Linked DNA regions of Homo sapiens: all the other regions are linked to region 2. The links are contacts of gene promoters, found by promoter capture Hi-C in blood cells and fetal thymus (Javierre and others, 2016). All regions are on one chromosome and are shown on one strand. Each heading gives the region's core, a stretch centred on a gene start or on the middle of the fragment in contact. The rest is flanking DNA. Distances are from core to core; before and after follow the strand shown. Region 1 holds the start of USP32 (ubiquitin specific peptidase 32). Region 2 holds the start of HEATR6 (HEAT repeat containing 6). Region 3 overlaps VMP1 (vacuole membrane protein 1). Region 4 overlaps LOC105371850 (a long non-coding RNA gene).

Region 1 (2,842 bases), core at 334-2,833, 310 kb after region 2:
AAAGACATAAAAGGCATATCTGTGTTATTCTGGTAAATCCACCACCACCAATACATCTCAATTCTGTATCTTACTGTCAGGTGATGGTCAACTGAACTTACCCACTTACCCCTCTTCTTCCTATATACGAACAAGAGTTCACTTCTCAAGCCTCATTTTGAATACCCGTCTTTTAATCTAATTACCATTTTATATCCTTAGCTACTAAAACCACCTGGAGCATGGCTGATTTCTTGACTTGGAAACCTGTTAACAATAATGCCTAGCTCCTAATCTTCTTAATGTTTTTTCACTTCTTACCAAGAATATCCATTAAATGTCTAAAAGAAATACAAGCATACACAGATCTACACACACTGAAATCCCAGTCATGAAAAATTAAGACATTCCGGCCATAAACTGTGCAACAAGACACTTCCAGTTAGTGTGTGCTTTAGTGATCATGGACAGCGGTATCAGAGTGAGTGGTAGGGGGTTGGGGCTGCCAACAATATACTGTGCCTCAGAGCCAATAAGCAGCAGGCCGGGACTGGCAGCCAGGCCAGTCTCTAAAGGGAGATTTAACACAATATCTGAATGCTGGACTTCCCAATGCCATTTCATGGAGAGGGATGGAGCGAGAACTGGGCATCAAGTGCAGTCAAAGGCTTTGGTCAACGTCGGAGGAGATGAAACCTAAGACAAGGTCTGGTGCCAACGCCAGCTGTCCAGTCTCATCTCACCTCAAACACAACTTCATTTCAGATCGTTCTTATCAAAGTCAGCCGCTCAAACGGTGAAGGGTGGCAGAAGCGGATGGCCACAGCCCTCAAGAGACAGGCATAGGCTCTGGGAAAAGGCAGGGACTCCCCAGATACGAAGGGGCTTCCAGTAGCAGAGAGGAGCGCTTTGCAGCCGCCTCCTCGTCCCCTTCCAGCTAAGGCTGTTAGGAACGAGGTTAGGATGTTATTTGAGGTTTTTATGAAGGAATGATAGGAGAAAATGGCAATGAAGGATGAGGGGGGCTGGATGGGCTGGAGCCGCCCAAGAAAACGGGGAGAGGACTTCCCTGGACACATCCAGGATCACAACGCCACCAGCGAGCACGGGCACTGCCCTGCCAGCGCCGATCCCCCTCTCTCAGGACAAGCCCCTTTCCAAACGGCCCTAATTCCCAAACGCTGCTTCCCACCCGACCTCTCTCCTCCACCACACTCCCCAAGGCCGGCCGCCTTTCCCTTCCGCCTCAGGCGCCCCACGCCCTCAATCTCCCCTCTCCCTCCCGGTTACCCACCCTCCAGGCTGCCCGTCGCGGGCCTCCCAGGCAGCTCGCCCAGACCCCTCCCCCCTCACCTCTCCTCAGCGCCTCCTCGTAGCTGAGGAATCCGATCCGTGACTCCTTGGCACCCATGCTCCCCTCATCCCCTCGGCGGGGGGTCGGAGCCTGATCTCGCCCCCACCCCCCTCCCGCCTTCTCCTCGGCGTCCCTGGGTGACGGTGACGGTGTCGGCGTCCCCCGCCCCCACCTCCCCCCACACTAACAAGTGCGGCTTCTGCCCCGGCGGCTCCTCCCGGTCGCCGCCACCGCCTCCATGCCGGATCACGTGACTCTTCCGCCCCGCCCCCTTCCCCTGCCTCCTACTCCGCCCTTCTCTCTCCTCTCTCTCCTCCCTCTCCTTCCCTCCTCACGCCCTCTTGCCACTTCCGCCCCCTCCCGCCAGCTCCGCCGAGGGTCACGGGACCCGAGGCCAGACACTGTTCCCGGTAACGGCCGCCCAGGGCCGCACGCTCCGCCCCTCCCCAAGCTAACCGCGCGCAGGAGCGCCGGGGAGGGGGACGCATCTCCGCACGTAACGCATCGTCCCATCTTCCCGCCAATCGCAGCCGCGCGCCCCGCCCGGGCGCCTCCGCTGGCGACGGGGGGTGGTGACTTCCGGGGCGCTTGAGGACGACCCCCCCCGCCCCCGCGCCCACATGTTCTGGCGTTCGGCGGGTGGGGTCCGAGCAGCTGACGGTTAGTGTGGCAGTTGCCGGGACCTAACATGGAAGACCGCAGAATCTTAGGGAATGGGGTTCTGAGGGATGCGGCATATGGCTCAGAAGAGAAAGGAGTGGGTAGGCAGGGAGCTCCCAACCTTAGGGACGTCTTTGACTGGGAGGGCGTTGTGAAAGGAAAGGAGAATCTCAAGGCTTTCCTGTGACAAAAGAATGCTCACACCTAGCGGGAGATCCCTGAGGAAAGTGGACCTTGTTAACGAAGTGGATCTGCCTTTTCGGGTCATCTCGCCTGCCCGGCCCACCTTCTCCTCCTGACCATGCCTCTTGTACACATTCTCTGGAAAGCGCTGTGCAAAAGGCTTATCCTCTCTCCCAGAGTTTCTCCCCGAGAAACATGAGGGCTACAAGGCTTAGCGTGGAGTCGTTTTAATCTGTGGTAAAATATACGTAACAAAATGTACCATTTTCACAATTTCTAAGTGAGTTCAGTGGCGTTAAGAACATTGATATTGTTTTGCATCCATTGCCACGTCCCATTTCCCACCGTTTTTCATCTTGCAAAAGGGAAACTCTGTGCCTATTAAACGGTAACTCCCCAATCCCCCTCCCACTGGTCCGTGGCAACCGCTGTCCTACTATCAATTTCACTACTCTTAAGTATTTCCTCTGAGTGGAACTCTGCAGACTTTCTCTTTTGTGACTGGCTTATTTCACTTGGCATCGTGCCTTCCAGGTTCATGGTGTGGCAGCATGTGACTGACTCTCCCACTCCACCTCTCCATTTCCCAAAGAATGAAAAGCAGGGATGTGAACAGGTATTTGTGCCCCCGTGTTTATAGCAGCATTATTCACGAGAGCCAAAAGG
Region 2 (2,877 bases), core at 200-2,699:
TACTGCCTTAATCTCACTCTGCTTCCTAATGACATACACTATTATTCTGTAGTCAATTCTTTCAGACCTTTTACTTTGCATATATAAACACACATATTTTAAAATCCCTCCTCCAGCTTCATACTGATCTCATTCTGTATGAATTGTCCTGCAACTTGCTTCAACCATTTACCAATACGTATTGAAGACTTTTCCAAAGCAGATTTTAAAGTTTATGAACAATTTTTTTTCCTCCTAAAGAAAAGATCATTCTGGCATTGGAGGAATGACTGGCTTGGAGAGGAGCTAGACAGGAGGCAGGAGATCAGTCAGAGGGGATCAGCGAACAGTCCAGGCATAAGTCGCCTTGCCTGAGGTCTAAGGCACTCGCTATGGGAATAGACAGGAGGGGATGAACTGAGAAATATATATGAGACACATTCTGAAATACCTGAGTTGGTCAGGATCTGGGATGAAGGAGGGAAGAACCAGTGTTTGTGTCTGGTGTGACTTGGTGGATGATGCATGTGTGTTGGAAGGTGGGATGGACTGGGGACGGGAATGCGTGTTTGGAGCTAATGAATTTCATCTTTAGGAACTGTCTAGTTTGAGATGCCTGTGCAAGCAGGCAACTTGCACCACTTCCCTCTTTCCTACGTAGGGCCAGAAGGCCATGGTGTCAACAGTTCAGAGAATTCATTAATTTAAGGCCTGATGTGTGTAAGATTACTCAGAAAGACGGCAGAGGGGAGGAGCTAGTGTGTAGGAACAGAAAACATAGGGGCTTTGTGGCAGAGTTTTGTATACTGTATTTTTACGAGCTTCAGTATTTTCATTAGCAAACAAGCCCTAATACTACGCAAGTTCTAAGATTCCCACGTGGTCCGTGTACCATGTACGCAATAAACAGTAGTAATGCATTTTGTCAACCAAGTGTTCTGGGTGCACAGAGAGGGAGTGAAGGAGGGTGCGGGCGGATGGAAAGTTGGTATCAGAGAGGAAACCCGAGGCATTATCAGAGCAGGAGTCGTCAAGTTGGGTTTTGAATGACTCGAGCGTGCCAAGCACTGCAGGGTCTTCCAAATGGAGAACTAAGAATGTGCCAAGGTTGGAGGGGGCACGCCATCCTGAAACTAAATCATCAGGCGCGAGAGTGGGAAGATCAGGGAAAGGCAGGCAGAGGCCACCAGCTGGGTTCCCGGAGGGGTGGGGCCGGGGCCGGGGCCAGCAGGGCGCGCCGCCTACCTCCGGGGCCACGCCACTGCCCTCGCTGTAGTTCTCGGAGATGAGCTGATCGAAGAGCAGGTGGATCTCGGTGCGGGCGGAGCTGCTGTCATCCGGGCGCAGGGCGCAGAGCCTGGCAGACAAGAGGCGAAACCCATTGCCTCGCTCAGGGATTGCTTCCCGCGGTGCCTCCCGCGGCTGCACGGAAGGCCACGAACCGACAACTTGCACAGCAGCCATCTTTTCTACGGGCGGGGGGGGTGGGTGGGGTGATCCCAGGGAAATACTTCCGGGACATCCTCCCGTTCCGCGCGCTCTAGTTCCGAAAGTACCTTTTTTAGACCGGACTGGGGCTCAGAGGGGTTTCCATGACTACGGGACTCCTCCGACCGGTACCCTGCAGATGCTTGTCAGAAATTGGCTTGGAGGCCGGGCTCGGTGGCTGACGCCTGTAATCCCAGCACTTTGGGAGGCCGAGGCGGGCGGATCACGAGGTCAGAAGATCGAGACCATCCTAGCTAACACGGTGAAACCCCGTCTCTACTAAAAATACAAAAAAAAAAAAAAAAAAAAAATTAGCCGGGAGTGGTGGCGGGCGCCTGTTGTCCCAGCTACTCGGGAGGCTGAGGCAGGAGAATGGCGTGAACCCGGGAGGCAGGGCTTGCAATGAGCCAAGATCGCGCCACTGCACTCCAGCCTGGGCGACAGAGCGAGACTCCGTCTCAGAAAAAAAAAAAAAGAAAGAAATTGGCTTGGAGATTTTTCGCCGGCCACTCCTTCTTGAGCCCTGACTGAAAAGTGAGTTCTCAATTTGTGCTTCCAGAAAGTTTGTCCTCCCAGAGTTTGTTCCTGGACAGGGCTGAAGGTACTCTGTTCCGTACTAGAGTTTCAGATTCGGGCTGGAGTTGGAGAGGGTATGCTGTGGATGGCAGTAGCAGAAACCGCTAGTTCTAAGGCACCCTTCTACTCTTCTAAAATCTTTCCCCAGGCACAAAACCACCCGGAATAAAGGCTACGTTCCCTAGCATTCCTTGCAGTTGGCTGTGGCTCTGTGATTGCAATCTGGTCAGTGGAATATAAGGCAGCTTTCCCTACTTAAGTGACAGCTGGCTGTACTCTTGGTTCCTTTTTCTCCCTTTTTCCCAGTGTGAATCCTCTCATGGATCATGAGGCACCTCGCCCCACTAGAAGAGTAATTTTGGAGTTTAACTGAATCATGTAAAATATAATCTGCCTAAGAGTGACCGGGTTGAAATGAGACACCCCAAGATTTTCTGAAACCTTGAAGTCAAGAAGCTGGAGAATAAAATGGCCATTTAAAAATCTGTGATCACTTTTCAGTCATCCAGGAAGTGAAGGCTTGACTTTCACAGTTGGGCAGATTGGGAAAACCATCTCTAGGGCCTTTGAGTTATGCAAATATAAAGCAAATCCTCACCCTTGGCCCTTAGGGAAAACCTTGAAGTCACCTGAATGTATGTTTTATCCTGAGAACAAAACATTTCTGTTCAGCAGTGAAAATTGGGGGTATGCTTTAGCAGAGGTAGTTTTCTGAAGACTTTGGGCTTGGGGAGAAATGTTAATTTTTTTGTTTGGATTTAGATTCCGTTGTGCTGGTATATTATTTCTTATTCCTAGTCTGTGTACATATGTGCGTTATATATGTGCATGTGT
Region 3 (3,000 bases), core at 31-2,530, 340 kb before region 2:
AAGGAATTACAGGTTACAGGATACTTTTCTGTTCGTGTCTAGACCTGTCCTCATATTCCTTGGGAAAACCAGATTAAGAAACTCATTTGTAGCATTTAATTAATTTGGAAGCCTCTGAAAAGCAACCCAGATAGCAGACTCTGCTGAATGTCAAAAGAGATTGAAATTATGGCTCATGCCTGTAATTCCAGCATTTTGAGAAGCCAAGGCGGGCTGATCACTTGAGCCTAGGAGTTCAAGTCCAGCCTGGGCAACACATCTCTACATCTCTATAAAAAATACAAAAATTAGTCGGGTGTGGTGGCACAGGACTGTTAGTCTCAGCTATTCAGGAGGCTGAAGCGAGAGGATGGCTTGAGCCCAGGAGATAGGGGCTGCAGTGAGCTATGATTGCACCATGCACTCCAACCTGGGTGACAAAGTGAGACCTTGTCTCAAAAAAAAAATTATTTTAAATGCCCTAAAATTAAGTATATATAAAACAGCCAGATCTGCAATTTATGAATATATAATCCTGGCTATAGTGTGGGAGATAGATTGAAGGTGGAAGAGAAGAGGAGCAGTTAGGATTATCCTTATGAGAGACACAAGCTTCCCAGGAGGTGATAGGAAGAATGGATAGCAAGGAGTATTTATAAAGAGAACTTGTAGAGAGAAGTCAAGCAAAATGAAGACAAAAGATGGTATAGATCTTTGATGTTTTAAAAGATTGCTTGGAATGGAAATAGCATTTGGGATGAAAAAGGACAAATATGACAGAAATTTTAGAAGTACAATCAAGAGTGTGGTACGTTATTATGGAGGAAGAAGGAATGAAAGATAACTCTTGGATTTCCTTTTGTTTTGTTTTAATATATTTTATGTGTATTTAAGGTATATAACATGATGTTATAAGATATAAATATATATAGTAAAATGGTTACTATTGTGGAAAAAATTAACATATTCTTTATCTCATGTAGTTACCCATTTTTACGTTTTTACTCCTCATGGCAAGAACAGCTATAATTTACTAGTTTAGCAAAAACTCTGAATACAACACATTGTTATTAACTATAGTCCTCATAGTGTATGTAGAGTACATTGGATCTTTTGACTTGTTCTGCCTGTATATTTGCTACTTTGTATCCTTTGATCTACATCTCCTCCCATCTCTATCTCTATAAATGAGATCTTGCAACATTTTTCTGTGTAGTTACTGGTTTTTTACTGAGTGACTGGGTAGATTTTGATGCCATTAACTGTATAGAAAACAGTTATTTGTTCACTTGTTCACATTTATTACATATTATGTGAAAGTATGTGAAAAGAGAAATTTAAAGGTATACTGTAATTATGCTGCAAGTTAAATGAGATCCTCACTTTATCCAGGTAGGTTGCTGGTGCCCGTAGTTGAATGGAAAGAGAAGGGAAATTTATAAAGGACTGAGAACGCCTACAAAACAAAACAAAACAAAAAATTATTAGAGCTGGGCACAGTGGCTCATTCCTGTGCTCCCAGTGCTTTGGGAGGCCAAGGCAGGAGGATCGCTTGAGACCACAGGTTCAAGAGCAGACCTAGCAAGACCCCGTTTCTGAAAAACACATAAATAAATAAAAGATAAATAAATTAGCTGGGTGTGGTGGCATGTGCCTGTGGTCCTAGCTCCTTGGGAGGCTAAGGAGGGAGGATTGCTTGAGCCCAGAAGCTCAAGGTCACAGTGAACTGTGATTGCACCACTGCACTTTAACCTGGGAAACAGAGCAAAACCCTGTCTCAAAAACAATAATAATAATAATAATAATAATAATAATAATAGGCTTTATTGTTCAGTGTAGTTTTAGGTTTACAGAAAAATTGAGCAGAAAAGACAGAGGATTCTAATACACCAGGGGTCCCTAATCCCCAGGCCACAGACCAGTACTGGTCCCTGGCCTGTTAGGAACCAGGCCACACAGCAGTAGGTGAGCAGTGGGCTGGCAAGCAAGTGAAGCTTCATCTGTATTTGCAGCCGCTCCCCATCACTCGAATTACTGCCTGAGCTCTACCTCCTGTTAGATCAGCAGCAGCATCAGATTCTCATAGGAGCTCGAACCTTATTGTGAACTGCACATACGAGGGATCTAGCTTGCATGCTCTTTATGAAAATCTAATGCCTGATAATCTGAGGTGGAACAGTTTCATCCCAAAACCATCCCCCACCTCAGGTCTGTGGAAAACTTGTCTTCCACGAAACTGGTTCCTGGTGCCCAAAAGGTTGGGGACCACTGCCATAACACCTTTCCCCACCACACAGTTTCCTCTACTATTAACATATTGTATTAGTGTAATTTATTTGTTACAATTGAGGAACCAATATTGATACATTATTAACTAAAACCCATAGTTTATGGGATCTACTCTGTGTTATACAGGTCTATGGGTTTTGACAAATGCATAATGTCATGTATATACCTATAGTATCATACAGAATAGTTTCACTGTCTTAAAAATGCCCTGTGCTTCACCTGTTTTTTCCACTTCCCCACCTGCCCCCAAACCTTTCACAACCACTGATCTTTTTACTGTTTCTATAGTTTTGCCTTTTCCAGAAGACACTATAGTTGGAATTATAGGGTATGATCCTTTTCTGACCGACCTCTTTCACTTTGCAATATACATTTAAGGTTTTTCCTTGTCTTTTTCTGGTGTGATACCTCATTTCTTTTCATCACTATTTAATAATATTCCTCTGTATGGATGTACCACCCGTTTGTGTATCCATTCACTTACTGAAGGATATCTTGTTTGTTCCTGTTTGGCAATTATTTTTAAAAAACTGCTCTCTCTCTCTCTCTCTCTCTATATATATATATGCTATATTATATATATGCTATATATATGCTATATTTATAAATACATATATTTTCTGATAGATCCTGAGTATAATATATACTCTATTGATAGAACATGAGTATTAATTACTAATATATAGAAAAAACTTGGCTTTTTTAAGGTTGTTTACTAACCTTATATCCTGC
Region 4 (2,762 bases), core at 158-2,657, 330 kb after region 2:
CCATTCCCTAGTCTCCTGCCCTCCAAACTATCCTTTAAAAACCCTAGCCTCGGTGGGCGCGGTGGCTCATGCCTGTAATCCCAGCACTTTGGGAGGCTGAGGCGGGCAGATCACAAGGTCAGGAGATTGAGACCATCTTGGCTAACACGGTGAAACCCTGTCTCTACTAAAAATACAAAAAATTAGCTGGGCGTGGTGGCAGGCACCTGTAGTCCCAGCTACTCAGGAGGCTGAGGCAGGAGAATGGTGTGAACCTGGGAGGCGGAGCTTGCAGTGAGCCGAGATTGCACCACTGCACGCCAGCCTGGGCCACAGAGTGAAACACTGTCTCAAAAAATAAATAAAGAAAGAAAGAACTAGAGAAGCAAGAGCAAACAAAAACAAATGCAGTCTATACTATATAATGCTATATAAATCACAAGAGTCAAAAGCACATAACATAGGTTAGAAATAGAAACTGTCGGCTGGGTGCGGTGGCTCACGCCTATAATCTCAGCACTTTGGGAGGCTGAGGTGGGGGGATCACAAGGTCAAGAGATTGAGACCATCCTAGCCAACATGGTGAAGCCCCGTTTCTACTAAAAATACAAAAATTAGCCAGGCATGGTGGCACGTGCCTGTAGTCCCAGCTACTTAGGAGACCAGCCTGGACAACATAATGAGACCTTCACCTCTACAAAAAAAAAAAAGTTTTTAAAGTTAGCCAGCCAGGCCAGGCACGGTGGCTCACACCTGTAATCTCAGCACTTTGGGAGGCCGAGGCAGGCGGATCACCTGAGGTTGGGAGTTCAAGACCAGCCTGACCAACATGGAGAAACCCTGTCTCTGCTAAAAATACAAAATTAGCAGAGCATGGTGCATGCCTGTAATCCCAGCTATTTGGGGGCTGAGGCAGGAGAATCGCTTGAACCCAGGAGGTGGAGGTTGCGGTGAGCCGAGATTGCCCGATTGCACTCCAGCCTGGGCAATAAAAGCAAAACTGTCTCAAAAATAAATAAATAAATAAATAAATAAATAAATAAATAATTAGCCAGCCATGGTGGTGCATGCCTGCAGTCCCAGCTACTCAGGAGGCTGAGGTGGGAGGATCACTTGAGCCCAGGAGTCAAGGCTTCAGTTTGAGCCGTGATTGTACCATTACACTCTAGCCTCGGTGACAAAGTGAGAGTCTGTCACTATTTTTTAAATTTAATTTTAATTTGTATTTATTTATTTGTTTTAGAGAGAGAGGTCTCACTATGTTCCCCTGGCTGGTCTCAAACTAATGGGCTCAAGTGATCCTCCCACCTCAGCCTCCAGAGTAGCTGAGATTACAGGCATGCACCACCATGTACAGCTCCTATTCTACTTTCTGTCTCTATGAATTTGCCTATTTTAGATATTTCATATAAGTGGAATTATATATTTGTTCATTTGTGTCTCGCTTATTTCACTTAGTAGAGTTTTTAAGATTCATTTATGTTGTAGTATATATGAGGATTTCATTCTTTCTGTGGTTGAATAATATTCTATTGCATGCATATACCACATTTTTTTATCCATTCATCTATTGATGGACACTTGGGTTGTTTCCACTTTTTGGCTATTGTGAACAATGCTGCTGTGAACATTGGTATATAAGTATCTGTTTGAGTCCCTGCATTCAATATAATTTAATATTTAATAATGCTTCTGTTTAGCAAACAGCTGGCAAAATTGCAAAAACTTAATAATCAGCTCTGATGAGCCTGTTAGAGCCAGCTCTAGCACAATATCAGAGAATCTGTAATTTACCTGACTGGACCCAACAAGCCCAACTTGGAATTCAAGCTCACCACACCGGTATTTTCCAAATTTGCCCGATGATGATAATTGCCTAGGATATTTATGAAAATACTGATCCCCAAGCCAGGTGTGGTGGCTCATGCCTATAATCCCAGCACTTTGGGAGGCCAAGACAGAGAAGATTGCTTGAGCCCAGGAGTTTGAGACCAGCCTGGGCAACATGGTGAAATCCCATCTCTACAAAAAATACAAAAATTGGCCGGGTATGTGATGTGAACCTGTAGTCCCAGCTACTAGTGGGGAATGGGGGCGGTGGGGCGGGGGAGCAGGTGGCTGAGGCAGGAAGATCACCTGAGTCTGAGAGGTCAAGGCTTCAGTGAGCTATGATTGCACCACTGCACTCCAGCTTGGGTGACAGAGTGATACCCTGTTTCAAAAAAAAAAAAAAAAATAGTGATTTCCAGACCCTCTTGGGACATTCTGATTCTGAAGATCTAAGGCAAGGTGATTTTTCTGTCTGAAAAACTCTAATATTAGTCCCCAGTCTCACCAAATCTGGGCCTGAAGGGAGGGAGTGGGGTACAAATACGGTGCCCTGGAAGAAAGGTGGTGAGAGTGAGTCCTTTGGGGAGAAATTGCTGCAAAATTTGAGATGCATTTTTTTCCTCTCCAAAATCATTCCCAGCTCCAACATTCATTGACATTCATTCAGTTCTCTCCTGCTTATCTCCCTGAATTCTGTCTTAGCAAAGAAAACCTTCCAGAAAGAGCCAAGAGGAAATCATTAGGCCCCAGCAATTTTGACAAGATCACAGACGCTTGCATATCATTAGACTATTTAGAAACACGCTCTAAAGTTCCGAGGTTGCCATTCTGCAGTGTTATTTTGATACCCTGACAAGATATTTTTAGAGCACATGAAGCCCAAATTAAAACATTGCTACAGGAAAAAAAAAGTGAAATCCAACCAGGGGTCTATTAAATGGAAAACTACAGTA

Evidence for each region. Contacts are between HindIII fragments. The CHiCAGO score rates a contact against its expected background, and 5 or more counts as called.
Region 1: the fragment with the promoter of USP32 here is called in contact with the fragment with the promoter of HEATR6 in region 2 in 2 of 17 cell types (total B cells and M1 macrophages); the score reaches 6.2 in total B cells.
Region 3: a contact is called between a fragment that was not itself captured here and the fragment with the promoter of HEATR6 in region 2, in 1 of 17 cell types (M1 macrophages). The highest score is 5.3, in M1 macrophages.
Region 4: a contact is called between a fragment that was not itself captured here and the fragment with the promoter of HEATR6 in region 2, in 1 of 17 cell types (total B cells). The highest score is 5.3, in total B cells.

Annotation. Positions count from the first base shown.
Region 1 is chr17:60,390,550-60,393,391 of GRCh38, forward strand. It overlaps USP32 (ubiquitin specific peptidase 32), which reads right to left and starts at 1,584. Exons shown (of 34, transcript NM_032582.4): 1 at 1,333-1,584. The coding sequence starts at 1,390. RefSeq lists an enhancer at 1,299-2,140 and silencers at 1,315-1,374, 1,405-1,624, 1,735-2,054. The HindIII fragment of the contact is 3,969 bases long and covers 1-2,842 here.
Region 2 is chr17:60,077,472-60,080,348 of GRCh38, forward strand. HEATR6 (HEAT repeat containing 6) reads right to left here and starts at 1,450. Exons shown (of 20, transcript NM_022070.5): 1 at 1,225-1,450. The coding sequence starts at 1,443. HEATR6-DT (HEATR6 divergent transcript) reads left to right here and starts at 1,838. Exons shown (of 2, transcript NR_135648.1): 1 at 1,838-2,001. RefSeq lists a silencer at 1,107-1,236. The HindIII fragment of the contact is 13,067 bases long and covers 1-2,877 here.
Region 3 is chr17:59,740,759-59,743,758 of GRCh38, forward strand. All of the region lies in intron 5 of VMP1 (vacuole membrane protein 1), which reads left to right. Among named protein-coding and RNA genes, the nearest start is that of VMP1, 35 kb to the left of the region's middle. The HindIII fragment of the contact is 1,382 bases long and covers 590-1,971 here.
Region 4 is chr17:60,410,337-60,413,098 of GRCh38, forward strand. All of the region lies in intron 2 of LOC105371850 (a long non-coding RNA gene), which reads right to left. It also overlaps a transcript of USP32 not described here. Among named protein-coding and RNA genes, the nearest start is that of CHCT1, 11 kb to the right of the region's middle. The HindIII fragment of the contact is 3,591 bases long and covers 1-2,762 here.